2 separate regions of the Homo sapiens genome follow, and region 1 is linked to region 2. The links are contacts of gene promoters, found by promoter capture Hi-C in human tissues and cell types (Jung and others, 2019). All regions are on one chromosome and are shown on one strand. The core of a region is centred on a gene start or on the middle of the fragment in contact, and the rest is flanking DNA. Distances in the headings are between cores, read along the strand shown.

Region 1 (2,755 bases), core at 70-2,569, 510 kb before region 2:
CCCCGATTCTCCAGGCACCCCGACACCTGCTCTCACAGGCCGGCCAGCCCCCACCACCCAACTCTCCACCGAGGGAAAGGAATGGGCACAAGAGGGGGCGTGTCCCGGCCCAGGGCGATGGGAAACATCTCACTAGCAAAGAAGAGATCAACCCATGGTCATTCTGAGAAGGTGACCAAAGCTGCGGCGGGCCCCGGGAGGGGTGTGGGAAAGGAAACCAGGGACTCTCAGGAGGGAACGGGAGCCTTGTGGTAGAAAAGGAGCTGCTGTCCCCGATCTGGAACTCGAAACCCCAACATCTTCCAGGCCGTAAGCCCCTCACCCCGCACCCCTAGGCAAATCTCCGCTTTCCCAACTCCCTCACCTCGGTCCAGCGATCAGCCTCTCGGACCCTCGAGAGGGAGCTCCGACCCTGCTCTAGCTCTTGCGGGTCCCCCAACCATGGACTCCAAAGCCTTCATGTCCACACTGCAGAACCCGGCCCTGGCCCCCTCCCGCGACACTCGCGTGCGGCTAGGACTCCTGTGGCCAGGACCCGGCTTCCACCGGCGCTCGGCGTGCGGGGCTGCAAAGCCCGCGGCGCGCCCGCCCCCACTCCCGCTCCGCTCCCGGAACCCCGCGCCGGCGGCCGGAGTGAATCATTAACTGGAGCCGGGTGCTCCGGCTGCGCAGCCTTCCCCGCTGGCGCCACGCACTTGCCCGCCCGGCCTCGGTCCCCCGGAGCTCCTCCCTCTCCGGGAGCCGGTGGGCAGTCCCCACGCCACACCAGCCGGACCACCCGCCAGAGGCTCAACGGCCCCTCCTCGCAGCCGAGGAAACTGAGGCTCGGAGGCAGGGCGCAGAGGCCCAAGGTGACACAGCAGGCGGCCGTCGGCCGGGGAGCGCGGGCCCCGCCAGCCACTTTCCCGACACAGGAACCCTCCTACCGGCTGGCGGCCCCCGCGCCCGGCCCCGCCAACGCACCCGAGGCGCACAGGCTCCGGAGCCCCCGCGGTTCCTGCCTCCCGGCTTCCCGGCCAGGGCAGAAGGAGATCCCAGGGCCGCGGACCCCGGCCGGCGGTTCCCAGGCCCCGCAGGTCCGGCAGGAAATGCCGCTCGCTTAACCCCTTCCAGCCCGCTGCCGCCTCCAAGCCCGTACGCGGCCCGGCCCCACCTGGCGCCCTCACCAGGTGGTTCATGGTGTCCGGCGGGCCTGGGGCCCCGGCTCTCGCGGGGGCGCACACCGAGCTGCCCGGGCCGCGTGCCCTCGGGGCTCCGAGCGCGCCGCAGCCGCCCCGGTGCCGCCGCGCAGCTGCCGCCTCGGCCACCCAGAGCCGGTCCAGCCGCTCTCCGCCTGCCGCCACGGCCCAGCCGGCCCAGCCCGATCCCAGCATGCCCGGCCGCGCGCGCCCATTGGCCGCCGCCGCTCTCCATGCAAATAAGCCGCCTGTCGGGGGCGCGGGCGCGCAGACAGAAGCCCGCCCAGTAGGGGCCGCCCCCCGCCCCGCCCCCCACCTCCAACCCCGAGGCTCCAGGCCCCTGCCCGAGGCCAGGCTTCCAGCCTAGGGCGCAGGACACCGCTCTCCAACAAATGCACGTCCCCGCCTTCCACCCAGGCGAGAACGCACCGAAGGCCTACGCAAACTCCTCCACTTCTGGGAAGGCTGCCCGGTTTGCCTTCTTCCTCCAGAGCCGAGACATGGCCTCAAGTCGACTTGTCTTTCCCGCTAACCAACCCCAGGGCATTCATCGCGTGTCCATGGGCCGTGGGACTCAAATCTGAATCTAGAGGGAAAGGGGAGGGGGCGTGCCCCAGCCTGTAGGAGACGAATCATCACCACCACAGCTCCGACTGTAGACGGTCCCACCGTGTAAGGACCCCAGGAAATGAAGCCTCAAGCAGGGAGGCTGGCGAGCTCTCGACCCAGCGCTTTTCACGGGCAGCACCTACCTTCCCCTGCATTGTGCCGACATCTGGGGACTCGGGCTGGTCCTCCAGCTGATCTGCCTCCTCTCATTACTCATTCCTAGGTTCAGCCTAAAACCTGGGCCTAGTACCCTCCTGAGTCCTGCTCCAACTCATCTGCTTCAGCGACATGGGGTAGGAGAGCGGCACTGGGGGAATGAGGGAGATAGAAGGAAGAATCACTCGGGGGAAACCGAGTGGAGACAACCTTGGCTCTCCTGAGTTGCCCCTTGCTCGGTTGCAGGTCAGTGACTGTCACCCCATGCAGCAGAACCAGGGTGCCAGAGCCCCTGGGCCAGGCCAGGGAGGCACAATCTGCAGGGAGATGATAGGACCGAGCCTGGTCCAGACCAGACAGGACCCTCAGTCAACAATCCTGGGCCACTGGCTGAGCAATGGGATGCCACGAGGCAGCCCTGGTGGCAGGGAAGCAGCGGGGTAGACCCGGCTTCACGCAGCAGAGAATTCTCAAGCATGGCCTATGGAAGACACAAGCCCAGGTGGGCCTGCAGCTGCCCCTCTGTCTGACCCCCAGGGCTCAGCCTACGCAGCGCCTGGCCAGATGTGCCACCTTGGCAGGCCCTCTCCCCTCTCTGGGCTCCTTTCTCATCTGAAAAGGGGCTAGGACAGCCCATGATTTGCTGCTCAGGTGCTCTGGGGAGCTAGTTAAAAAACAGACTCCTGTGTCCCACCCCTCCCAAAAAACTGGACGTCTGCATTTCTTCAATATTTGGCTTGGGAAGCATTGGCCAGAACTCACAGCACAGCGGGTGAGGAAGGAGCAGTGGGATGAGACAGAGCATGACCCAG
Region 2 (3,016 bases), core at 435-2,934:
AAGGAATAGAAAATGTGTTAGTTCGTTCTCATACTGCTATAAAGAACTGCTCAAGACTGAGTAATTTATAAAAGAAAGAGGTTTAATTGACTCTGAGTTCTGCATGGCTGGGGAGGCCTCAGGAAGCTTACAATCATGGTGGAAGGTGAACGGGAAGCAAGGCACCTTCTTCACAAGGTGGCAGGAGGGATAGTGAATACAGGAAGAACTACCACTTATAAAACCATCGGATCTCGTGAGAACTCACTTACTATCATGAGAACAGTATGGGGGAAACTGCACCCATGAATCAATGACCTCCACCTGGTCTCTCTCTTAACACATGGGGTTATGGGGATTACAAGGGGGATTCAAGATGAGATTTGGGTGGGATCACAGAGCCTAACCATATCAGAGAGGGATGAGGAAGCACCATCACTAAGCTACAGTGGTCAGGAAAGGGCACTTTAAGAAGACGTGATTAGAGTTGGTATCTAAATGAAGGAGGCAGCCACCACATATGTGGTGTAAAGGTATTCTCGGCAGAGGAAATGCCCAGTGCAAAATTCTGAGACTTAGTGAGCCTGCCATGCTAACTGGACAAAATCGTGGTCAGTGGAGTCACAGGAGGTGCTTGGGTAGGTATACACCTGCAAGGACCAGGGCATGGACAACCTCATGGGCCAGGAGAGCATAGATTTGAGTCTCAGTGTAAGTTGTAGGCACTGGAGGGCTTTGAGCAGCATGGCCCATGGTCTTATTTATGGTTTTTAAATGCTGACATTGGCCTCACAGTCGTAAAGGTGAGACAGTTCAGGGAGGAGATAGGGAAAGGGTTGATTACTTAGCCTTTGTGGTCCTTCCAACTCTCAGTCCAGGCTTGTGATGGGGCAGAGAGGACACAGAACAGGGAAGAGAATCAGGGATCCTCGAAAAGTGTTCACATAATTTTGTCTGGGGCTGGTCCTCACTGAAGAGTGTTGGCTTTGACCTGTAAACCCACTTGAGACACCCTTCAGAGTCAAGGTTAAGGTGGCTTCCCGGTGGACACCCCAAGGGAGTTTGGGGTGAGAAGGAAGCTTGTGCTCTCAGGGTTAAATATAATTTGCATTTACATCATGCACATTTTAAAACTGCAATCCTAAACATTGTAATCCTATCAGGTCTTCTTTCGAGATGTGTAATTATTAATACATTAAATTATGGCAATAAAACCAATAGAGAAACAAATAAAATTATTTAAAAAGTAAGTTGGAATAAAATAGTTGCTGTTTTCCTGAATTATTTTAGAGGCTTTGCTAAAAACAACATAAAACTGTAATTATGCTACTTACAAATAGAATAAAATGGAAGTAATTAATTTATTAGTGTTGTTATTGAAATAATCTACAGGCAGAGCACATTATGAAGCAGAATCCTGTCTTTTTTCATCTTATACATGATATAATCACTCACTGGCAATAAAACTAAAATAGAAAATATGAAAATTATTGTAGAGCAGAGGAAAAGGGCTCTTGTGGTTGTGGTTGTGTAGTAGCATGCTCAGTGGGAGGTGGGATCTATCCAGGGGTGACTCACTTTCGTTTTCAGGCTGAGTGGACAGTGCTTGGTGTCCAACATTTCTTGTGGCCAGAGGAGAATGGGGAGGATGTGTCCAGCCAGGGAAGCTCCCTGGTGAAAAGGATTCCTAGGCAATTGTGTCCTGGATTTCTGGAACAGGGGAAGAGCAGAGGTTTCTTTTCTTAGGACCTGTCCCTTTAAGACTCTCTAAACATCTGAGGTCTGACAAGGGGAGGAGGTGGAGGACCAGGGCCTGGACCAGTGGAACTGTGGTCTAGTGGTCATGTTGAATAGAAGGAAGGTCCTGAGCTGTGGCAGCCAGCACCAGGAGCATCAGGTCATGCTCTTTGTGGACCTTGTGAAGGATCTGTTGAGTCAGGGTGGAGTTGACCTGAGGGAGGCCTCTTTCTCCTGGGATCCTGACCTTGGGAGGAATGCTGGGTCTCCCATGAGTCACAGCTTGGTGTTCCTCTTTAAAATACTTTTTAATTTTTAATTTATTTTATAAATTTTTTTGTGAGTACATAATAGTTGTATAAATTTATGGGATACATGAGATGTTTTGATAAAAACATGCAATGTGAAATAAGCACATCATGGAGAATGGGGTATCCATCCCCTCAAGCATTTATCTTTTGAGTTATAAACAATATAATTGCACTCTTTACTTTAAAATGTACAATTAAGTTGTTATTTAGTATAGTCACCCAATCAAAAGTAAGCCTTATTAATTCTATTTTTTTTGTAACCATTAACCTTCGCCACCTCCCCTCAACTCCCCACTAGCTTCGCAGCTTCTGGTAACCATCTTTCTACTTTCTGTGTCCATGAGTTCAATTATTTTGATTTTTAGATTCCACATTAAGTGAGAACATGCAATGTTTGTCTTTCTGTGCCTGGCTTATTTCACTTACCATGACGACCTCTGGTTCCATCCATATTGTTGCAAATGATGGGATCTTATTCTTTTTTATGGTAGAAGGTGCTCCTCTTTCTTTGGGGATGTGGACATCCGGAGGATGCCCTGGTGGTCCTTCTGCCAAATACCCCATTTGCAACACCAGGGACATAAGTATATTTTTGAAAACCTTACATTTTCTTCATTTTTTTTTGGTGTCAGATATGCGTTTTCTTTTTTATTTTATCTTCACACTACCTAGTCAACAAGTTGCATTTCCTTTTCTTTTCTTTTCTTTTTTTTTTTTTTTTTTTTTTTTTTGAGGTGGAGTCTCGCTCTGTCACCCAGGCTGGAGTGCAGTGGCACAATCTCGGCTCACTACAACCTCTGCCTGCCAGGTTCAAACAATTCTCCTGCCTCAGCCTCCCAAGAAGCTGGAACTACAGGCATGTGCCACCATGCCTGGCTAGTTTTTTATTTTTATTTTTGTATTTTTAGTAGAGAAGGGGTTTCACCATGCTGGCCAGGCTGGTCTTGAACTCCTGACCTTGCGATCCACCCACCTCGGCCTCCCAAAGT

What was found. The method cuts DNA at HindIII sites, captures the fragments that hold promoters and counts their contacts. A contact is called where the count stands out against the background at its distance.
Region 1: the fragment with the promoter of BCAR1 here is called in contact with a fragment that was not itself captured in region 2 in 1 of the 25 tissues and cell types used here (lymphoblastoid cells).

What each region holds. Positions count from the first base shown.
Region 1 is chr16:75,250,305-75,253,059 of GRCh38, forward strand. It overlaps BCAR1 (BCAR1 scaffold protein, Cas family member), which reads right to left and starts at 1,320. Exons shown (of 7, transcript NM_014567.5): 1 at 1,167-1,320. The coding sequence starts at 1,178. RefSeq lists silencers at 1,203-1,362, 1,423-1,532 and enhancers at 1,532-2,072, 2,613-2,755. The HindIII fragment of the contact is 33,708 bases long and covers 1-2,755 here.
Region 2 is chr16:75,756,843-75,759,858 of GRCh38, forward strand. No RefSeq gene overlaps it. Among named protein-coding and RNA genes, the nearest start is that of CPHXL, 32 kb to the left of the region's middle. RefSeq lists an enhancer at 1,422-1,471. The HindIII fragment of the contact is 7,555 bases long and covers 1-3,016 here.